Regions from separate parts of the Homo sapiens genome. Here all the other regions are linked to region 4. The links are contacts of gene promoters, found by promoter capture Hi-C in blood cells and fetal thymus (Javierre and others, 2016). All regions are on one chromosome and are shown on one strand. The core of a region is centred on a gene start or on the middle of the fragment in contact, and the rest is flanking DNA. Distances in the headings are between cores, read along the strand shown. Region 1 has its middle 16 kb from the start of CCNQ. Region 2 has its middle 10 kb from the start of HAUS7. Region 3 has its middle 1.4 kb from the start of ZFP92. Region 4 holds the start of CETN2 (centrin 2).

Evidence for each region. Contacts are between HindIII fragments. The CHiCAGO score rates a contact against its expected background, and 5 or more counts as called.
Region 1: a fragment that was not itself captured here is called in contact with the fragment with the promoter of CETN2 in region 4 in 1 of 17 cell types (neutrophils); the score reaches 7.4 in neutrophils.
Region 2: a fragment that was not itself captured here is called in contact with the fragment with the promoter of CETN2 in region 4 in 1 of 17 cell types (neutrophils); the score reaches 5.4 in neutrophils.
Region 3: a contact is called between a fragment that was not itself captured here and the fragment with the promoter of CETN2 in region 4, in 1 of 17 cell types (monocytes). The highest score is 5.1, in monocytes.

Annotation. Positions count from the first base shown.
Region 1 is chrX:153,613,370-153,616,299 of GRCh38, reverse strand. No RefSeq gene overlaps it. Among named protein-coding and RNA genes, the nearest start is that of CCNQ, 16 kb to the right of the region's middle. The HindIII fragment of the contact is 1,391 bases long and covers 769-2,159 here.
Region 2 is chrX:153,479,601-153,482,505 of GRCh38, reverse strand. It overlaps a transcript of HAUS7 not described here and the pseudogene ECMXP. Among named protein-coding and RNA genes, the nearest start is that of HAUS7, 10 kb to the right of the region's middle. The HindIII fragment of the contact is 5,581 bases long and covers 1-2,905 here.
Region 3 is chrX:153,408,714-153,411,413 of GRCh38, reverse strand. It overlaps a transcript of PNMA6E not described here. Among named protein-coding and RNA genes, the nearest start is that of ZFP92, 1.4 kb to the left of the region's middle. RefSeq lists a silencer at 1-146. The HindIII fragment of the contact is 738 bases long and covers 982-1,719 here.
Region 4 is chrX:152,829,339-152,832,042 of GRCh38, reverse strand. CETN2 (centrin 2) reads left to right here and starts at 1,286. Exons shown (of 5, transcript NM_004344.3): 1 at 1,286-1,335; 2 at 2,283-2,441. The coding sequence starts at 1,333. It overlaps NSDHL (NAD(P) dependent 3-beta-hydroxysteroid dehydrogenase NSDHL), which reads right to left and starts at 980. Exons shown (of 8, transcript NM_015922.3): 1 at 926-980. RefSeq lists a silencer at 1,047-1,386. The HindIII fragment of the contact is 2,163 bases long and covers 5-2,167 here.

The sequences.
Region 1 (2,930 bases), core at 215-2,714, 780 kb before region 4:
GGGGCTATGTTATGAGAAGAGTGTTGTTAGGTGATTACATCATTGTGCGAACATCCTAGAGCGCACATACGCAAACCTAGATGGTGTAGCTTACTGCACTCCCAGGCTATATGGTATGGCCTATTGCTCCTGGGCTACAAACCTGTACACTATGATAATGTAGGCAGCTGTTAACACAGTGGTAAGTATTTGTGTGTCTAAACCTAGAAAAGGTCCAGTCAAAATGCAGTATTATAGGCTGGGCACGGTGGCTCACACCTGTAGTCTCAGCACTTTGGGAGGCTGAGGCGGGAGGATCACTTGATCCTAGAAATTCAAGAACATCCTGACCAACATAGTGAGACCCAATCTCTACAAAAAAGTTTAAAAATAGCCAGGTGTGGTGGCAGGTGCCAGCTACTAGGGAGGCTGACATGGGAGGATTGGTTGAGCCTGGGAGGTCTAGGCTGCAGTGAGCTGAGGTCACGCCACTGCACTCCAGTCTGGGCAACAGAGTGAGACCCCATCTCAAAAAGAAAAAAAAAGTGCAGTATTATAATCTCGTGGGAACACTGTCATATGTGCAGTTTGTTTTTGACCAAAGTGTCATTATTCAGTGTACAACTCTACTTATTTCTTTTTATCACTGTGGACTCGGGGGTTTCTTACTTTCTGGAAGAACAGGGTGTTCTAGGCTCATCTTGACTTTCCCTGGTCTCCTTTTCTGGAATCAGCCATTTCTCCTAGGATCCCTAATTCATTTTGAGTGGATAATGACACTTAGAAGCTTACTGGGAAATTGCACACACATAGAGAATACATACATATATGTGTATATATGTATATACAGTCCCATATCTATCTATCTCTCTCTCTGTCTCTCTCTCTATATATATCCATCTATCTATCTACCATGAGTTCATACTGACCCATCCAATTTCAACCCAACAGCACCACGTCCCTTCTAGTCTTCCTCCTACTTGCTGGTTGGTAACTTCTTTCCCTCTTGCTGAGAAAGTTGGCTCCCATTACCTGAAATATATTTATGTATTTGCTCAGTCCTAGAATACTTGGAAAGTAGTTTCAGAATCATCAACTCATGTCTCTGGAAAGGAGAAAACTACTCTGCAGATTTCCAGGTTTGTCTAGAGTTATTTTTGTTTTTCACTCGAGGACATATAGTCCCATACCGTGTTCAGGTTGCTTGCCGAGTTTTTTTCTCTTTCAAGGTGGTTGTGTTATTGTTCGATATATGGTTTGCTTCACTTGTTTCCGTTTGTATTTCCTGTGAGGATCTATTTCCCCACCCTTGTGACTTGATCTGTTTTAGGTACTTTGAAGTTCAAATGCTCTCTGTCTTCTGATTATGACGAGGACATGGGTTTTGGGTGGGTTTATTTGTGCTTGCTTTTTAAAAGTGATTTTGGTTTGGAAGCTCTGTTGAGAGTTCCAGATTTAAGGGGCTGCCATTACCTTGGATATCCAGGATTTTCTGAAAAATCAATGTTTTGAGCATGCCAGTTCTTTCCAATTTAAGTTTTAGATTGAACGTAATTGTAATCTAAATGCCATTTGTAAACGGAGCTTGACAAGGTGGTTCTTAAATCTATATGGAAGAACAAATGGCACAGCTAAGACAGAGAGAAGGAGGAGGTGGGTGGAGTTGCCTCGGCAGATTCTAAGAATTATTATAAAGGTGCCATATTTAAGATAGTGCGGGCTGGGCACAGTGGCTCATGCCTGGAATCCCAGCACTTTGCGAGGCTGAAGAGGAGGATCACTTGAGCCCAGGAGTTTGAGACCAGCCTGGGCAACACATGGTGAGACCCTGTCTCTACAAAACGTACAAAAAATTGGCCAGGCATGGTGGCGGGCATCTGTAGTCCCAGCTACTCAGGGGGCTAAGGTGGGAGGACCACCTGAGCCCGGGAGGTCGAGGCTGTGGTGAGCTGAGATCGCGCCACTGCACTCTAGCTTGGGTGACAGAGTGATACCCTGTCTCAAAACAAACAAACAAACAACAACAACAACAAAAACCTTGATGTATGACAAAGCTGGCATTGCTGGCCAGTGGGGGAAGGAGATGTTCAATAAATAATGCTGGACAATTGGTTATCCATATGGAAAATAAGGTCTGACGACATCAAGTGTTGGCAAGGCTGTGAAACCGCTAGAAAGCTTGTATACTACAGGGGGGGGCATATGGATTGGTACAACCACTTGAGAAAACAATTTTTCATTGCCCAGCAAAGTTGCAAGTGTACATTTCTGGTGGCCCAGGGATTTTCCTCTGGATATGCCCACTAGTGAAACTTGTGCTGGGCATCAGGACTCTGGTAACAGCCCAAAAAGTGGAAACAATTCCCCCTTCCACCAAGCAGATGATGCAGAGATCAGTTGTAGTTTAATCCCACAACAGAACAGAATGCTTGCGGGAAGAATGGATTACAGCTCTTCGTCTCGGGAATACCACATTCAGCGGAAAGGCAGGTTACAGAATAATACAGACAGTATGATTCCATTTGTATAAAATTCAAAACAGGCAAAACTAAAAAATATATTGTTTGGGGATGCAAAGGTGGTGAAACTATAAAGAAATACACAGGAGTGGTATATGCAAAATTCCAGAAGGTCACCTCTGAAGTGGGGGTAGGGGACATGGGGCAATGAGAAGGGTCACCCAAGGTCCTTCAAAGGGAACGTTACCTTTCTTCTAAGCTGGTGGTGAGTACACAGAGGTTTGTTGTATTGTTCTTTACACTTACACATATTTTGTAAATGTCCTTTTGTGTCTACTCAGTATCTACTAGACCGTTTTAAAAGGTGAGAGTTCTGCTGAATTCCATATGGAGAGGCACCGTGATCCTTTTGTGGCTGAGAAACCTCAAAAGTCTTCATTAGGCCCTGGTGACCCCCCCAGGTAACAGATGAGGGGAAAAATTGGGTCCCAG
Region 2 (2,905 bases), core at 335-2,834, 650 kb before region 4:
GCCCAGGCCTGCCCCCTCGGTCCCTGCCCCCGGAACTCGCCCGCACCACGGAAGCTGCTGCCTTGCAAGCCCTGCAGGAGGTTGTCGTTGAGTTTGAGCTCCTGCAGGGAGGCAGGTAGGGCCGGGACTGTGGTCAGCGAGTTCCCAACCAGGTTCAGCCGCTTCAGCCGCATCAGATTCTGGGAGGTCATGGGGAATAGGTGGGCTGGGGTTGGGGGCCTGCTGGTCGGGGCACAGGCCTTCCTGGGCATGGCTTTGGGCCCATCCTGACCAAGGGCACTCTGTTGGTGGCATCATGGCTTCCTAGTTCCCACTGAATCCAGGCCTGTCTGGGAAGGTTTCTGTTTGCTCCTATACAGGGCCTGCAAGCCTGTGCTGCTCCCCCTACTCCCAGCGATGGAACACGTCACACCAAATTGTGGAAGCCCACCATGCTGGCTGCTCTCTGCAGTGCCTCCTCCAGGCCTTACCCCCTAAGCAGCTCCACCCTGCAGTGAGTGGATGCCTCAGGTCACCTGGGACCTGCCAGCCCCAGCCCCAGCCCCGGCCCCCGAGAAGAGGTGAATGGGCCACAGCATACCTTGAAGGCATGGGGGTGCAGGCCTCGGGGATCCAGCTTGTTCTTGCTGAGATCCAGCCACTCCAGGTTGGGCAGCCCCAGGAACGTGTGGGCTGGGATCTTGGCAATTTCATTCTCTGTGCGCACATGGGGCAGCCATATTCTCTGCCCCCTGCCCGCTGCCACTCTGTACCTCCCACACCAGACAGGGCTGCTCAGGGGAGCCAGGGTGGGAGCCCAGGTCTCAGCCTTCTCACCCCTGCTGCAGGGGTGGGTGTGGGGCGAGGAGGCCACCCACCTGCCAGGTAGAGTGTGGTCAGACCAGGGTGGGTCAGGGCAGGGACATGCTTCATCTTGACATTGCCACAGGCGATGACTGCCTGGGCCAGGAGGCACGAGGCCGGCAGAGAGGGCATGGCCTGCTGGGTGGTGCCCAGGTCTGCGTGCCTGTGCCTGTGCCCATGTGTGCTTCCTGGTCTTTTCCACCCATGGCCTGGGGTCTTGGAGGTGCTGCCGCCGCCACCCTGGCCTCGGCTGCGGTCCTTCTGTGGGCGCCGGATCCTCAGCCCAGGTTGATGGGAGGTCCCTGGAGGAAGAGAGACAGCCCCTGCTGGGTCACAAGCAACAGGGGCCCTACTGAGGAACAGGGGCTTGCCCGAGGCTCCCAGGGCCTGCCAGTGACTCAGCCAGCCTGGGTTGGAGCGACAGGTTACTGGGACCCCTCCCCTTGGCACCAAGGGCAAAGGCCCAAATGGGGGCTCTGAGGCTGGGGAGGGGACGTGACTTTGGAGGGCTTCCCTCCCACCCCACACACGAGGGCACTTGGCTTGGAAACACCGGGAACGGGGCAGTGCCTGGGTGGCCAAACTCATGCGTGGTCCTGTCAGCCCCAGCAGGCCCCAGGCCCCACCTGAAGGCCGCCTGTCCTGGCCAGTTCTCACCTTTGGGGGGCCTCCTGGGTTTCAGGCCCCTTCCCTTGTCTTCCCGGCCTCCTGTCCTCTGGCCCTGGTCCTCCTCGGTGACTGCTGCCCCCTCTTGAGCTTGAGGGTCCCTGCCGGCCTGCCAGGGCCTCAGCTTCAAGGCCTCGGGCTTCCCTGCCCCAGCCCTCATGGCAGCTGTGGCCTGGGGCTGAGCCCACTCAGCGACCAGGCCCTTGTTGTGACCCTGCTCCTGCTCCAAGGTCACTGGGGGTGACTCCTTCCTCAGGGCCAGCCCTGGCCTGGGAAGCGCTTTCCAGCCAGTGGAGGGGGACTGGGTGGGGGTTCCTTGAGCTCCCTGCTTCGGGGTGGGCTGATCCCGCAACTGGTCCAGCTTCCCAGCCTCAGGCTTGTCTGGGTGGCCGATGCCAGGGATGGGCTGCAGCTGACCTGCGGAAGGAGCCAGTGTGGGCTGGGGGCCTTGCCTCCTTTCCCCAAGGGGCTGTCAGCTGCTAGAAAGCCCATCGCCCTTCCTCTTTACCCAGGCCTCCCCCCGCCCCGCCTTTCCCTTACCTCCTGAGGAGCACTGGCGAGAGAACAGAGTGTCCCCACCGTCAGCAGCAGGCCACCAGCCCCTGGGGCCAGTAACCCAGAGTACCTCTCAGAACTTACACAGCTCCTCACTGCTGGGGAGGGGGGTGGGTGGCGCTCTAGGCCCATTAGGGCTAAGGGGCTGGGCCTATAGGTTAGGCCCAGGGGTTGGACCGGTGGTTGGGCCCAGGGAGCTTCAGCAGCCCTGGGTAGAAAGCCTTGGGCTGCTCAAGGGACCTTGGGTCCCACCTCCCCTCACTTCCCCAGTGTGTCCCAAGGGTGGGGGGTAGGGCGTTTCCCCAGCATCCCCTTTGCCCCATACCCATTAGTGAGCAAGGACTTCACACGTGCTTCCTAGGGACAGCTTCTGGGGAGATGAAGGGGTCGCTGCGACCTGGCACAATTTGCTTTTAGAAGTGAAAGCCCCAGTGTCTGCTACAGGGGGTTTGTTGGGGATTAGGCAAGCCCAGGGGCCACCTCAAGGGGTCTGTGAGCCACTTTGGAGGAATGTTGATAACCCCAATGCCTCCTGTCCTCTATGGAGCAGCTCCTCCTTAACCAGGGCCAACCATGGGGGGCACCGCTCTGTCTGCAGGGGTGAGGGGCAGACCCACCCACCTGGCCCCTCCCGCCCTACCCCCAAGCCTGGGGCAGGGCCACCAAGTGTGGCTACAACCACTGGCCTATAAGACAAAGGCCACACTCATAGCCCATGTCCTCGGGCCCCTCAAGCCCCTCTCTGCCAGCAACCCCACTTCACCCCCAAGCCCTATACTCCCAGCCACCTGAGATTCTTCCTGTCTCAGGAGGCACTGGGGCAGCCAGAGCAACTCCTCCC
Region 3 (2,700 bases), core at 101-2,600, 580 kb before region 4:
GCGCGGCGCAGAGGGATGGCGGCCCGCCCCGCGCCCGCCCCACAGGGGCGTCTGGCCTGGCTCCCCACGCGCCCCGAGGCACTTCCGCTTTCTGTCTGGGCTGCTCTGAAGGCTGGGGTCGAAGTGGTCAGCGCACCGCGGCTCCTGAAGGGGACGGGAGGGACCCGCGTTGGCAGAACACCTCCCATGGGCTAGACCCCTGGGCGTTATTACGTCCATTCATTCAGTTATTCATCTCGCTGGGGTCCCCGGGACCTCTGCAGGGCAGCTAGCACCAAGTACCCCGGCCATGGTCACTCAGTAAAGGAGTGACCCAGGATGGCAAGGATCAGAGAGCGGGGAAGAGGTGAAAGGTGACTCAGGGAGCATGGTGTGGAGACACGAGGAGGGGAAAAAGGAGGTCAGGGAAGTGCAAGAAGCCAAGACCCTCTGGGTGCATCTGGCTTTCCCTCAGGTTACCGGAGGGGATCGCACCTGGAGTTTGTCATTTTCCAAAGGGTCATGCTCCACGTGGTAGAGCAGGGAGTGAAATCCAAGGTTGGTTGGGATATTGCTCTGATGACAATTGTGAGACCTTTGACAAATAGTGAAGCGTATGAAAAAGACCGTAAAAGAAAAGCAACAGGGAAAAATCAGCCACATCACATATCCCAGCCCCGGCCACTGGGAACTGAGCACGAGGCGGGAGCCTCCTTGGCCTTTGAACCAGAGTTCAGGGGTTTCTTTTCTTCAGAGACCCTGGGCCCTGGCCAGGAGCACTTAGCCCGCAGCAAGGAGCCCTCGGCAAGCCTGCGCTCCCAGAACAAAAGCCGTCCATCTGGGGCATAGGGGAAGGGCGAGGACGCTGCTCAGGGAACCTCCGGTTGCAGGGAGCAGGGCCCCCAGGGGGCCCAGTGCAGGGAGAGCTTCGGAGCCCCTTTCCCGGCGCAGAGGCAGGGAGTCTCCCGGTGGCCCTCAGCTGTGTGTCCTGGTGCCCAAGCTTGTCCCTTCACCGGGGCTCTGGCTGGGCAGGCTGGGATCTGGGCTGTTGAGATGTTGTGGGGTGACTGGTTGGTGCCCCTTGAAAGATACATCCATATCTTAACACCCAGGCACTGTGATCAGGGCCTTATATGCAAATAAAGGGTGTCTGCAGATGTCATTAAATTGAGGATGTGGAGATGAGAGCAACCCAGATGATCCAGGGGGCCCCAAATCCAAGGACAGTTTCCTTAGAAGAGACAGGAGAGAGAGACACAGAGAAGGCCATGTGGAGGCGAAGGTGGGGAGTGCCCAGGGCCCCCAGAAGCTGGAAGAGGTGGGTGGATCCACCCCCAGAGCCACCGGAGGAAGCGCCCGATTCTGGACTCCGGCCTCCAGAACTGGGAGAGTCAATTCCTGTTGGCTGAAGCCAAGCGGTTTGTGGTCATTTGCTGCGGCAGCCCAGGCCACTCCGACACGAGGGAATAGGCTGAGCCCAGAGTCCTCCTGGGCCATGGAGGCAGGGGGCGGGGGGACCTTTGCACCCGCATCATCCAGTAACCTGGTGGGGACTGGGGCGACCTTGGGAAGGCAGCTCCTGTTGTCCTTGGCTCATTTCCAGAGAGTGTGAGCGGCCAACCTGCATGGAGGCTGGGGAGTGTGTGCCTCGGGCAGGGGAAGGGGGCCCCTGGGAGTGCACCCCACTTCCACTGCAAGAGAAAGGGCCATGTGCACTGGGCTGCGGGTCCCACACAAGCTTAGAAATGGGGGAGCAGGGGTCACCGTGTGCACCATTGTTGGCACCGCGTGTGTGGACACATTGGTGGTGGAGGCGGCAGCGCGGTCAGCTGAAGAGCGCGACGCCTAGAGCAAGTGAAGACGACCTTGACAAGCCCACGATCCTGTCGGGAGATCAATCTCCCTTCCAGCATGTTTTCAGTTTTTTACTGTAAAGAACTGCAAACCCATGCCCAACCTAGAGAGGATGACAGGGCACACGGGCCCTCCCGGCGGTCCTCACACGGCCCTCTCTCCTCCTCTCCACTCCCCTTATTGTGGCCCTGAGGCCTGGGGCCTCCTGAGAGAGGTATCTCCATCTCTGCTTTAGGCAGGGGCAGGGCCTCCCGGGCAGCAAACCCGGATTCAGAACCTGGGGAGGAAGAGTTGGGGTCTGGAAGTGGGGAGGTCCCCTTTCCTCCCTGGGTTCCCACCACACCTAGCCCTCTCACAGTCCGGCTGGCCTGGCTGCTCCCCAGCTCTGGTCTCCCGTTCTCCCCTTGCCCTAGGCTGGCCCAGGACGGGCAGGTGAGGTAGCCGGGGGGCAGGGGAGTGGGCGCTTTCCCACAGCTGTGGTGCTGCCCACTGTGCCGTGGGCACCCGCCAGGTCACAGGCAGCCCCCTCCTGGGGGCAGGTTGGCAGCCGGTCTCCCAAGCCACAGCAGGTGCCCAGGGGCCCAGCAGGGAGGTCCAGGGTGACGTCAAGCTGTCTGTGGGAAGTGAGTGAGCAAGTTGGGGAAGGCCAGGCCAAAGGGGGCTGTAAGCCACCTTCACAGCAGGGCAGGGGTCAGGGCGGCACCTCTCCCAGGGGTCAGCTGGGCTGTGGCTGACTGCTCTGCTGGAGTGCCCTTGGAGGGAGGTGGTCTTGGGCTGCATGCAGAGCCTTGGGAATATGCTGCCAGCCTCAGATATCCACTGAGGGTGATGGCGACTGTGAGCTCCTGTGGGGACAGGATGTGTGTC
Region 4 (2,704 bases), core at 37-2,536:
AGCTTTGGAGATCACAGTGAGAACTCTGGCTCGTACTACTTGGGGGGATGATGATGACCCAAAAGTCAGGAATCTGTTCACTGCTGAAGAGAGAAGAGGGCAAAGGGCAGCAGCTCCATTTAAAAGGTTCTAATAAGCCTCGGGCCTTTCTCTGTCTGAGAAACTTACTCTCTGCCCTCTGTCTCCCTAGATTACTGCCCCTATGCCTGGAGGAAAAACAGGTGAAGGCTAAAAGCCACGGGGATAGCTAAAGAGGGCAAACTGGACCTCCAGCTCCACTTCTGCAGGTCTATGTCAGTCCACAGCCCTTGCACACGCTCCCTTTTAATTCTCCAAGCATACCTCTCACTTCCAAAACTCCTGTGACTCTGCTGATGAGGGCGTCTCGGCCTGGAATGCTCCTCCTTATCTGCATTGTGTGGGTGTCAAAAAGAGTATATTTTGATGACCTCTCCCCGCCCCTCATGCTCGCTCACATCCCCCTCACTCCTTTCAAAGTCCGTTCCCAAAGGCCCCAGTTCACCGTCCTGGGCTGCTTTTAGCCAGGTAAGATCTAAAGTGATCCTCTCTTGGAACCTGGTCTGGGGCCTATACATCTGGGTCAGTCTAGGGGTGCTCTCGAAGGGCCACCCTCAAAGAGCGAGCCTCGGCTGGATTCAGTTCCTAGGTCCCAGCCGTCCGACCTCTGCGACAACACTCAGCACACCCCTTCCCCTCTCCGGGTCTCAGTTGCCCCGTGAGTACAGTCCCTGCTCCAACACGCAAGGTAATCGTTTCTGGCTGCTCTGATGCACTCGGTCCCTAAACTCAGCCTTAGGTCAACCCAGAAAGCACCCGACCCGGGCGACCCCGTAGCTCCCCACCCTCCCGCACTGCCCAGTCGCTGACACAGGGTGACCTCCAATGGCAAGGCCACGACTCTTACCCGTCCGTAGGCGCCCCCCTGTCTGGCCTCAGCTCGCAAGCAGGCTGCACCCACTGAACTCCAGGCCCGGACCGCCACCCTTTACTCCCCTCCCGCGTGAGCCGAGAATCAGCCGAGCTTCCTCCACCAAGAGGATTGGCCCAGCTCGGCGACGACTCAGCCAATTGGCGCTCACGGCGTGATCTTGCCCAATAAAGACGGGGCTCTGTCGCCAGCGTGCCCCTCCCCGCGCTGGGCCGGGGCTTTGCCAGGTTAGTCCCACCCTCTTCGGCCCTGCACCAATAGGGAGAGGCGGCGACGAGCGGACGGCCAATGGGGAGCGGGGCTGCGCGCGCGGGGCGGTGGGAACGGCGCCGAGTCAGTGTACACGTCGGTTGCCTAACAACCGGCAGCGGACTCCTTTGGCTATGGTGAGTGCTGCCGCTCTGTCGCGCCCCACGCCCAGCGGCTGAGCCCTTCCCAGGCCCCAGCTCGGCCACGCCGCCTCTCCTGCGCCTTTCTCGGCTTTAGCGCACCAGTCTTTCCTTTGAGCTCTTTCCCGGGAGAGTAGGGTACAGACGCTAACCAACCTACTGGGCCTGCGCTTCGCTGCTGCCTCCTCTTCACCCACAACAGGCCCACACCCGCCCCTCGGGCTCCCCTTGCATTCCCTGATCCCCTCGGTGAACCTCCCTGGGCAAAAAAGACTCGAATCCCTCACAGGCCCCTGACTCTCTCAGACCTTGGCCCCCTGGCCTCCTCATTCTGCCAAAATTTCCACACACAGCTGGGAAAAGGTGTATCGTGTTCTGTTACAATGTTTTTTACAATTTAAATACAGGGGCATTCAGGGGATGCTTTAGCTTCTTGGAGAAGGCACGAAGGTGCCAGATGGATTGAGTTTTATTACTCGGTACTGACACAATATACATCTTAACAACTTACTAATATTTGGCCAAATCTAGAAGTAATTGGGAAGTCGGAGTACTTACTGGGAAGGGGAGTACTGGGAGTGGGCATCGTAAGACTGTTTTCAGAACCAGGATCCCCACGTTCGGGAAGAGCTGATTATCTCTAGTTATTCACAGTCATCTTCTTGACTGGCTCTCTTTTGGGATGATTTTCAGTAAGAGGTGTCCTTACTGAACAAGTGATCTCCCTGCTTCTAGAAACAACAGTAAAGAAAAGGGAGGGGTAGAAGTTCATGGAAAGATTCATTGTTCTTGCCAGTAAACCCTGTTATCTTTCTTTTTAAGCAAAGCTTTGGAATTGGTTATATAAATGACTTTAAAAATACATATGGGTGTCTGTAACTATGTTATGTAAATATGGACTGTATGATATATTATTGTGCTTGTGTATTGCATAACATATAAAGGCCTCCAACTTTAAGAAGGCAAACATGGCATCAAGTTCTCAGCGAAAAAGAATGAGCCCTAAGCCTGAGCTTACTGAAGAGCAAAAGCAGGAGATCCGGGAAGCTTTTGATCTTTTCGATGCGGATGGAACTGGCACCATAGATGTTAAAGAACTGAAGGCAAGCTCTGTGCATTCCTGCCGTACTGCCCTTCCTTTCCTCTGCCTCTTCCTTGTCATCTCCCTATCACCTCTCTACCCCTTTTGCCCTCTTCTCCCTGCAGTAAGTAACAGGGGAGGTTGTACTGTGCTGTTTTCCTGTCTTTACTTACTTTGAGTATTATTCAATAAAATTGATTGCAAATATCAATTAGATCAATGTCATAGTGTTCCCCAATCATATTAACATGACCACATCAGATGCTGGCTTAATGCTCTCAACAC